Linked DNA regions of Homo sapiens: all the other regions are linked to region 3. Evidence: promoter capture Hi-C in 16 types of primary human blood cells and fetal thymus (Javierre and others, 2016). All regions are on one chromosome and are shown on one strand. Each heading gives the region's core, a stretch centred on a gene start or on the middle of the fragment in contact. The rest is flanking DNA. Distances are from core to core; before and after follow the strand shown.

Region 1 (2,700 bases), core at 201-2,700, 180 kb after region 3:
TCATACCCTTAGAGATTGTAGCAGAGAATCCTCTAAATGTTTTTCACATAAATGTGATGATAGAAGATATAAATGATAACCCACCTCATTTTCCCCAAAATAGCATTGTTTTACAAATCAATGAACTAGCAATTCCAGGCATTCGGTTTGGCCTGGAATCTGCTATAGATGCAGATGTAGGGCCTCACTCTCTCCAGAGTTACCAGCTCAGTTCTAATGAACATTTCTCTCTGATGATGGACAAGACTAAAGGCAAGAACGCTCCAGAATTAGTGCTGGAGAAGCCCCTGGGCCAGGAGCAACAGAGCTCTCATCTCCTGGTCCTGGAAGCAATGGACATGGGTGACCCAGTCCCAACTGGCACTGCTGCAATTCAAATTGAGGTCACTGATGCCAACGATAATGCCCCAGTTTTTAGCCAGGATGTATACAAAGTCAGCCTTAGAGAGAATGTGCCCCCAGGCACCTCTGTACTAAAGGTGACAGCCACTGACCAGGATGAGGGTGTCAATGCGGAGATCACCTACTCTTTCAAATCCCTACGAGATGATATTGGAAATATGTTTGTGCTAGACCATCAAAATGGGGAAATTAAATCCAAAGACTTAATAGACTTCGAATTTCGTAGCAGTTATACCATGAGAGTAGAAGCTAAGGATGGTGGAGGCATGACCAGCGAATGTAAAATTATACTAGAAATCCTAGATGAGAATGACAATGCCCCAGACGTGGTTTTTACTTCAGTGTCCAGTTCTGTAACTGAGGACGCAGAACCCTGGACGGTGATCACTCTGTTCAAAACACATGATAAAGATTCGAGAGAAAATGGGGAGGTTACATGCCTCATAAACGAAAGAGTTCCTTTTAGAATCGAATCTTCCGCCAATAATGACTATAAGCTTGTAACAGATGGGACCCTGGATTGGGAGCGGATCCCGGAGTACAACGTCACCATCACTGCCACTGACAAGGGCAAGCCTCCGCTCTCATCCAGCACAAGCCTCACCCTACGCATTGGTGAAGTCAACGACAATGCTCCGGTTTTCCACCAAGTCTCCTACGTGGTCCACGTGGCCGAAAACAACCTTCCCGGAGCCTCCATCCCACAAGTCAGCGCCTCTGACCTGGACCTAGGGCTGAATGGCCAAGTCTCCTACTCCATCGTTACCACTGACTTGGAGCTGCGGGCACTGTCGTCCTACGTGTCCGTGAGCGCACAGAGCGGGGTGGTGGTCGCGCAGCGTGCCTTCGACCACGAGCAGCTGTGCGCCTTCGAGCTCACGATGCAGGCCCACGACCAGGGCTCGCCCGCGCTCAGCGCCAACATGAGCCGGCGCATGTTGGTGGGCGACCTCAATGACAATGTGCCGCGGGTGCTGTACCCCGCGCTGGGGCCCGATGGCTCCGCACTCTTCGATATAGTGCCACGCGCCGCAGAGTCCGGCTACCTGGTGACCAAGGTGGTGGCGGTGGACGCAGATTCGGGACACAACGCTTGGCTGTCCTACCACGTGCTGCAGGCCATCGAGCCCGGGCTTTTCAGCCTGGGGCTGCACACGGGAACCTGCTGGTTGCTGTGCGTGACGGAGGACAGCCGCCGCTCTCTGCGCCGCTACGCTTCACCTAGTCTTCGCAGACAGCCTGCAGGAGGCACTGCCAGACTTCAGTGACAGTCCTGTGCCCTCTGATTCCCAAGCAAAGCTGCAGATTTACCTGGTCGTGGCCTTGGCCTTGATTTCTATGCTCTTCTTCCTCGCAGTGATTTTGGCGGTCGCCTTGCACCTGCGATGCTCTTCCAGCCCCTCTGCCTGGGGTTGCTTTCACCCTGGTCTCTGTTCTAAGACTAGACCAGGGGTTTTTCCCAACTACAATGAGGGAACTTTGCTTTATTCCTGCAATCTGTATGTTCCCTCGGATTCTAGAAAAAGAAGATTTAATTTTCTCACCATGACACCAGAAACAGTCCCCCCACAAGATCTTTCTAATGAAGTTTCTCTGGTAGCAAGCTTCACTGAAGAGAATAACAAGATAAGCTCTAACTCTGTTGCTCCTACTCACGTGAGTTCCAATGAATGTCTTTCATTTACAAATGGATGAGGTTTAATTTTCAAACCAATATTTTGGCAAGAAAATCTTAAACATATTATATCTACTATTGCTTCAGGTTTGTTTGCCCACTCTTAATATTTCCTGTTCCTTTCTGTGTGGGCCAGTAACTTCATTATTAGCTTTCATGTATTTTTGAAACATTTTCACCATTTTTACGGGAGACTTTTTTTTTTTTTGGACGGAGTCTCGCTCTGTGGTCCAGGCTGGAGTGCAGTGGCATGATCTCGGCTCACTGCAAGCTCTGCCTTCCGGGTTCTGGCCATTCTCCCGCCTCAGCCTCCCGGGTAGCTGGGACTACAGGCGCCCGCCACCACGCCCGGCTAATTTTTTGCATTTTTAGTACAGACGGGGTTTCACCGTGTTAGCCAGGATGGTCTCGATTTCCTGACCTCGTGATCTGCCCGCCTCGGCCTCCCAAAGTGCTGGGATTATAGGCGTGAGCCACTGCACCCGGCCCGGAGACATTGTTTATACACACACACACACACACACACACACACACACACACGTGTGAAAAGTGGGTATTATGATACTGCTGTCATTGAGATATTTTAATTGAGGAATAAATTTTTTTCCTGTGATGTTTCTTGG
Region 2 (2,723 bases), core at 179-2,678, 240 kb after region 3:
TACACCTCCATCATTCCCATGGGAGAAGGTATAGAGGGGTGTGTGTTTGTGTGTGTGTGTGTGTGTGTAAAAGAACACAGAAAGCCAGATTCCTCTTTTTGACACCAGAATATTGGTTCCCACCATAGTCAAAAGGATATTCCTGAGGATCGAGGCTTGGAAAAATATTGGGGAAGGATAAGAACTCCAGTTGTTGCTGCTTTTTTTGGCAGCCAGTGTAACCTAGGTAAGGACTTGGTTGAATTAAGAAATTTCATGTCCAGATCAGGATGGATTTTTCTATTTCTCTGAGCTCTGGTGTGTTTCCCACTCAGATTGCAGGTCGTAGGTACCTACGGTGTGAATTGTGTTGTGTTTCTGTGCTTGTGCAAGGGAGTAGCTAGGTTGCTGGGAGGTCTGGATGAGGGTGGGGGTGGGGTGAGATCAAGTCTCCAGCTCCAAGAGGTCCCCTGGGGCTAAGTGAAAAGCTTGCTCTTTTGAAATGGTCTTCGTTGGTAATTAACAAAAGATCAAGAATACCTTGGTGTCAGATAAAGGGAATTTGTAGGCACAATGCTGTTGGTAGCTGATCTCAATCATTCAAGGAAGCTATTAAATCTATGAACATTAGCATTCTGCCAGGTAAAGAGATCTGGTCCTTAGCACCTCCCAGACACACTGATTCTTTACTGTTTTGAAACATCTCCCTCTCCTGGCTTCCTCCACCCCGCTTCCATACTGTCCTTGAAATCAATGAATGGTAATTTAGTGTATCTAGTGTATCACTAGCAAATGTCTGAATAAGAAAGGTTTGGTTTCCGCTGTGTCTCCTGTTACAATGAGAACATGTACTGCATAAATTTAATTGGCTACGTTAATGTGTAAGCCTTTTCTGCAAAGAGATGGATCCGTTTCTGAATATTCTGCAGAAGGGCAGAGTTTTGAGTATATGGCAGTGGTTCTAATTAGCAGTTGCTCCAATACAATCAGACTGAGACGGAAGCTACTCATTTAGAATACTGGTTGATGACAACACTGGCTTGAACAAAGTGACCACTCTCCAATGGCTACTCTCCCTCTCAGTGGGCCGCAGGTTGCTAGGGCTCAGGCTGTGGCTGTTTTCCCCGCCGAAAAGGGGCGGGGTCAGTCGGTGTGTTAGGAAAAAAAATGTATATATATATATATGTTGTCTGCCTCCCCACAGAGATAACAACCCGTGGAAAAACATGCCGTTGAGCGGGAGGAAGGCGAAAAGATAGGCTGGGTTTTTTGGGGGGTGGGGGAGCGTGGAGGATAGGGTGGGCTTTTTCCCCTCCAATGCTGCGACGCATTAACCCTGCTGCTGTTGGGACGTTCTCTGCTCAGCCTATTGGCTGAGCCCGGGAGCCGCTGTCTGCCAATCGGGTGGTGAAAGGCAGACAAATCTACCCCGCCACCAGCAAAAACGGCGCGTAACCCTTGCGGCGCCGGCCGAACCGCGCCAGAGCTGGCGCGGGGAAAGGGAGATAGGTGTCTCCAGCTGCTGTGGCTGTTTGGGGCGGGTCGGCTTCATCCGCGTCTCAGGAGCAAGTAGAGAATTAGCGGGCGGCAGCAATGCTCCGCAAGGTGAGAAGCTGGACAGAAATCTGGCGGTGGGCTACCCTTTTGTTCCTCTTTTACCACCTGGGTTACGTTTGTGGGCAGATCCGCTACCCGGTCCCAGAGGAGTCACAGGAAGGGACTTTTGTAGGGAATGTCGCTCAAGATTTCCTGCTGGATACGGACAGTCTGTCAGCTCGCAGGCTGCAGGTCGCTGGAGAGGTGAACCAAAGACACTTCCGTGTGGATTTGGACAGCGGAGCCCTGCTCATCAAGAACCCAATCGACCGAGAGGCACTGTGTGGGCTCAGTGCCAGCTGCATCGTGCCCCTGGAGTTTGTCACCGAAGGTCCTTTGGAAATGTACCGAGCAGAGGTAGAGATCGTAGATGTGAATGATCACGCCCCCCGTTTTCCGCGGCAGCAGCTGGACTTGGAAATTGGGGAGGCAGCTCCTCCAGGACAGCGTTTCCCGTTGGAAAAGGCTCAGGATGCAGATGTGGGGAGCAATTCGATTAGCAGCTATAGGCTGAGCTCCAATGAACACTTTGCACTGGATGTGAAGAAGCGCAGCGACGGCAGCCTGGTCCCAGAGCTGCTCCTGGAGAAGCCTTTGGATCGAGAGAAGCAATCGGACTACCGCCTGGTGCTGACTGCTGTCGATGGAGGGAACCCGCCGAGATCTGGCACCGCAGAGCTCCGGGTATCCGTGCTGGACGTAAACGACAACGCCCCAGCCTTCCAGCAATCCAGCTACAGGATTAGTGTGTTGGAGAGCGCACCAGCGGGCATGGTGCTCATCCAGCTCAATGCCTCAGACCCGGACCTGGGTCCCAGTGGTAACGTCACCTTTTATTTCAGTGGTCATACCCCTGATCGTGTAAGAAACCTCTTTAGCCTGCACCCCACTACTGGAAAGCTTACTCTTTTGGGGCCCCTAGACTTTGAGAGTGAGAATTACTATGAATTTGATGTGCGGGCTCGCGATGGGGGTTCTCCAGCCATGGAGCAACATTGCAGCCTTCGAGTGGATCTGCTGGACGTAAATGACAATGCCCCTTACATCACAGTGACCTCAGAGCTTGGAACCCTCCCCGAGAGTGCAGAACCTGGCACTGTGGTGGCACTTATCAGTGTGCAGGATCCAGACTCAGGGTCAAACGGAGA
Region 3 (2,729 bases), core at 161-2,660:
GACATAATCCTTATCTTTAGGGTCATCATAATCTTGTTATGTTCTTTCTTTCTGTCATATAATATATCCCTTGCTTATGGGTAGCTAAGTTGTTTTGCCACTTAATGAAATGACATTTTAGGTCATTCTGAGTTATTTCACATTACTATTTAAAGGGCATAGGAAATAGCTACCTTATGAACATGTTGTCTTTGTTTATCCATCTTATATAATGAACTTGAATCCCAGAAGAAGAGGGAATTTCTACAGTAGGAGGAGAACCTATCTGTCAGAATGTTTAAATTAATTGTGATTTATTAATGGATCCATTTAACAAATATTTATTGAGCACGTACCATGTGCCAGGGATTATTTTAGATATTGGGGATGCAGCAGTGAACAAAATGAAGTTCTAACATGTGAGGTTGAAACAGAAAGGAAACAACTAAATAAGTACATCTATACTACGTCAGATAATAAATACGAGAGAGACAAGGCAGGGCTGGGTACAGCAGCTCATGCCTATAACCCCAGCACTTTGGGAGGCTGAGGCAGGAGGATTGCTTGAGCTCGGAAATTTGAGACCAGCCCGGGCAACATAGCAAGACCTCATCTTTACAAATAATTAAAACATTAGCCAGGCATGGTGATGCGCAACTGTGGTCCCAGCTACAGTTGCTGAGGTGGGGGGATTGCTTGAGCCTGGGTAGTCAAGGCTGCAATGAGCAGTGATTGTGCCACTGCACTCCCTCCTGGACAACAGAGCAAGACCCCATCTCAAAAAAAAAAAAAGGAAAAATGAAAAGAAAAAAAAGAAAAAGCAAAGTAAGAGATATAGGAAGTGCCTTCATATGTATTTTTCCACAGTTTAAAATTTTCATAAAATCATAACTCTCTGACTTTATGTAGAAAGGATACCACACTGGAATTAACGTGTAGCTTTTTCTTGATGTAATCCAACCAATGGGAGCACAATTCTGGTACATAGGCTGTCTAGAATTTGAAAGAAATTAAAGAATTCATTTTGTTTTGCTGATAAATTTTTAAGAAATCACGTGGCTTTATGTTATTATTATTACAAGATGACTGATCACTATTATGTCTTCTTTCACTTCTCAATTTCCCTCAGAACACTACACCCAGACTACAGGCTCTGGAGGGTGGGGACCATGTCTGGGTTGTTTACTGATGTATTTCATAATTTGGCACATAGAGACCAATAATACTCCTTTAAATGAAGAAATTAATAATTACCATTGCGTGATATTGTGATTACATCATTTCCTCCCAATTTCCAAACTCCTAATAGAATAGAGAATAGATCAATTGTAGCAATTCGTTTCGAAGCAAAGACAACGCATGGTGGCGCTGCAGGCTAAGGCTTCAAAAAAAGGAAAAGGAAAAAGCCCATGAAATGCTACTAGCTACTTCAGACCTCTTTCAGCCTAAGAGGAAAGCCTGTTAGCAGAGCACGGACCAGTGTCTCCGGAGAATGCTATTCTCCTACATTTCCGAACAGGTTATCAACGCACAGATCGATCACTGCCTCTGTCCCATCGCTCCCTGAAGTAGCTCTGACTCCGGTTCCTTGAAAGGGGCGTGTACAGAAGTAAAGATGGAGCCTGCAGGGGAGCGCTTTCCCGAACAAAGGCAAGTCCTGATTCTCCTTCTTTTACTGGAAGTGACTCTGGCAGGCTGGGAACCCCGTCGCTATTCTGTGATGGAGGAAACAGAGAGAGGTTCTTTTGTAGCCAACCTGGCCAATGACCTAGGGCTGGGAGTGGGGGAGCTAGCCGAGCGGGGAGCCCGGGTAGTTTCTGAGGATAACGAACAAGGCTTGCAGCTTGATCTGCAGACCGGGCAGTTGATATTAAATGAGAAGCTGGACCGGGAGAAGCTGTGTGGCCCTACTGAGCCCTGTATAATGCATTTCCAAGTGTTACTGAAAAAACCTTTGGAAGTATTTCGAGCTGAACTACTAGTGACAGACATAAACGATCATTCTCCTGAGTTTCCTGAAAGAGAAATGACCCTGAAAATCCCAGAAACTAGCTCCCTTGGGACTGTGTTTCCTCTGAAAAAAGCTCGGGACTTGGACGTGGGCAGCAATAATGTTCAAAACTACAATATTTCTCCCAATTCTCATTTCCATGTTTCCACTCGCACCCGAGGGGATGGCAGGAAATACCCAGAGCTGGTGCTGGACACAGAACTGGATCGCGAGGAGCAGGCCGAGCTCAGATTAACCTTGACAGCGGTGGACGGTGGCTCTCCACCCCGATCTGGCACCGTCCAGATCCTCATCTTGGTCTTGGACGCCAATGACAATGCCCCGGAGTTTGTGCAGGCGCTCTACGAGGTGCAGGTCCCAGAGAACAGCCCAGTAGGCTCCCTAGTTGTCAAGGTCTCTGCTAGGGATTTAGACACTGGGACAAATGGAGAGATATCATACTCCCTTTATTACAGCTCTCAGGAGATAGACAAACCTTTTGAGCTAAGCAGCCTTTCAGGAGAAATTCGACTAATTAAAAAACTAGATTTTGAGACAATGTCTTCGTATGATCTAGATATAGAGGCATCTGATGGCGGGGGACTTTCTGGAAAATGCTCTGTCTCTGTTAAGGTGCTGGATGTTAACGATAACTTCCCGGAACTAAGTATTTCATCACTTACCAGCCCTATTCCCGAGAATTCTCCAGAGACAGAAGTGGCCCTGTTTAGGATTAGAGACCGAGACTCTGGGGAAAATG

The links. The method cuts DNA at HindIII sites, captures the fragments that hold promoters and counts their contacts. A CHiCAGO score of 5 or more calls a contact.
Region 1: a fragment that was not itself captured here is called in contact with the fragment with the promoter of PCDHB15 in region 3 in 1 of 17 cell types (fetal thymus); the score reaches 6.4 in fetal thymus.
Region 2: the fragment with the promoter of PCDHGC4 here is called in contact with the fragment with the promoter of PCDHB15 in region 3 in 3 of 17 cell types (naive B cells, total B cells and total CD4 T cells); the score reaches 6.3 in naive B cells.

Annotation. Positions count from the first base shown.
Region 1 is chr5:141,426,589-141,429,288 of GRCh38, forward strand. The region is part of intron 1 of PCDHGA1 (protocadherin gamma subfamily A, 1); the gene reads left to right. All of the region lies in intron 1 of PCDHGA2 (protocadherin gamma subfamily A, 2), which reads left to right. All of the region lies in intron 1 of PCDHGA3 (protocadherin gamma subfamily A, 3), which reads left to right. All of the region lies in intron 1 of PCDHGB1 (protocadherin gamma subfamily B, 1), which reads left to right. It also overlaps PCDHGA4, PCDHGB2, PCDHGA5, PCDHGB3, PCDHGA6 and PCDHGA7, and 10 more genes. Among named protein-coding and RNA genes, the nearest start is that of PCDHGA12, 2.6 kb to the right of the region's middle. The HindIII fragment of the contact is 1,107 bases long and covers 898-2,004 here.
Region 2 is chr5:141,483,602-141,486,324 of GRCh38, forward strand. PCDHGC4 (protocadherin gamma subfamily C, 4) reads left to right here and starts at 1,429. Exons shown (of 4, transcript NM_018928.3): 1 at 1,429-2,723. The coding sequence starts at 1,573. All of the region lies in intron 1 of PCDHGA1 (protocadherin gamma subfamily A, 1), which reads left to right. The region is part of intron 1 of PCDHGA2 (protocadherin gamma subfamily A, 2); the gene reads left to right. The region is part of intron 1 of PCDHGA3 (protocadherin gamma subfamily A, 3); the gene reads left to right. It also overlaps PCDHGB1, PCDHGA4, PCDHGB2, PCDHGA5, PCDHGB3 and PCDHGA6, and 12 more genes. RefSeq lists a silencer at 1,300-1,527. The HindIII fragment of the contact is 2,008 bases long and covers 466-2,473 here.
Region 3 is chr5:141,243,985-141,246,713 of GRCh38, forward strand. PCDHB15 (protocadherin beta 15) reads left to right here and starts at 1,411. Exons shown (of 1, transcript NM_018935.4): 1 at 1,411-2,729. The coding sequence starts at 1,595. It also overlaps PCDHB@ and the pseudogene PCDHB19P. The HindIII fragment of the contact is 5,789 bases long and covers 1-2,729 here.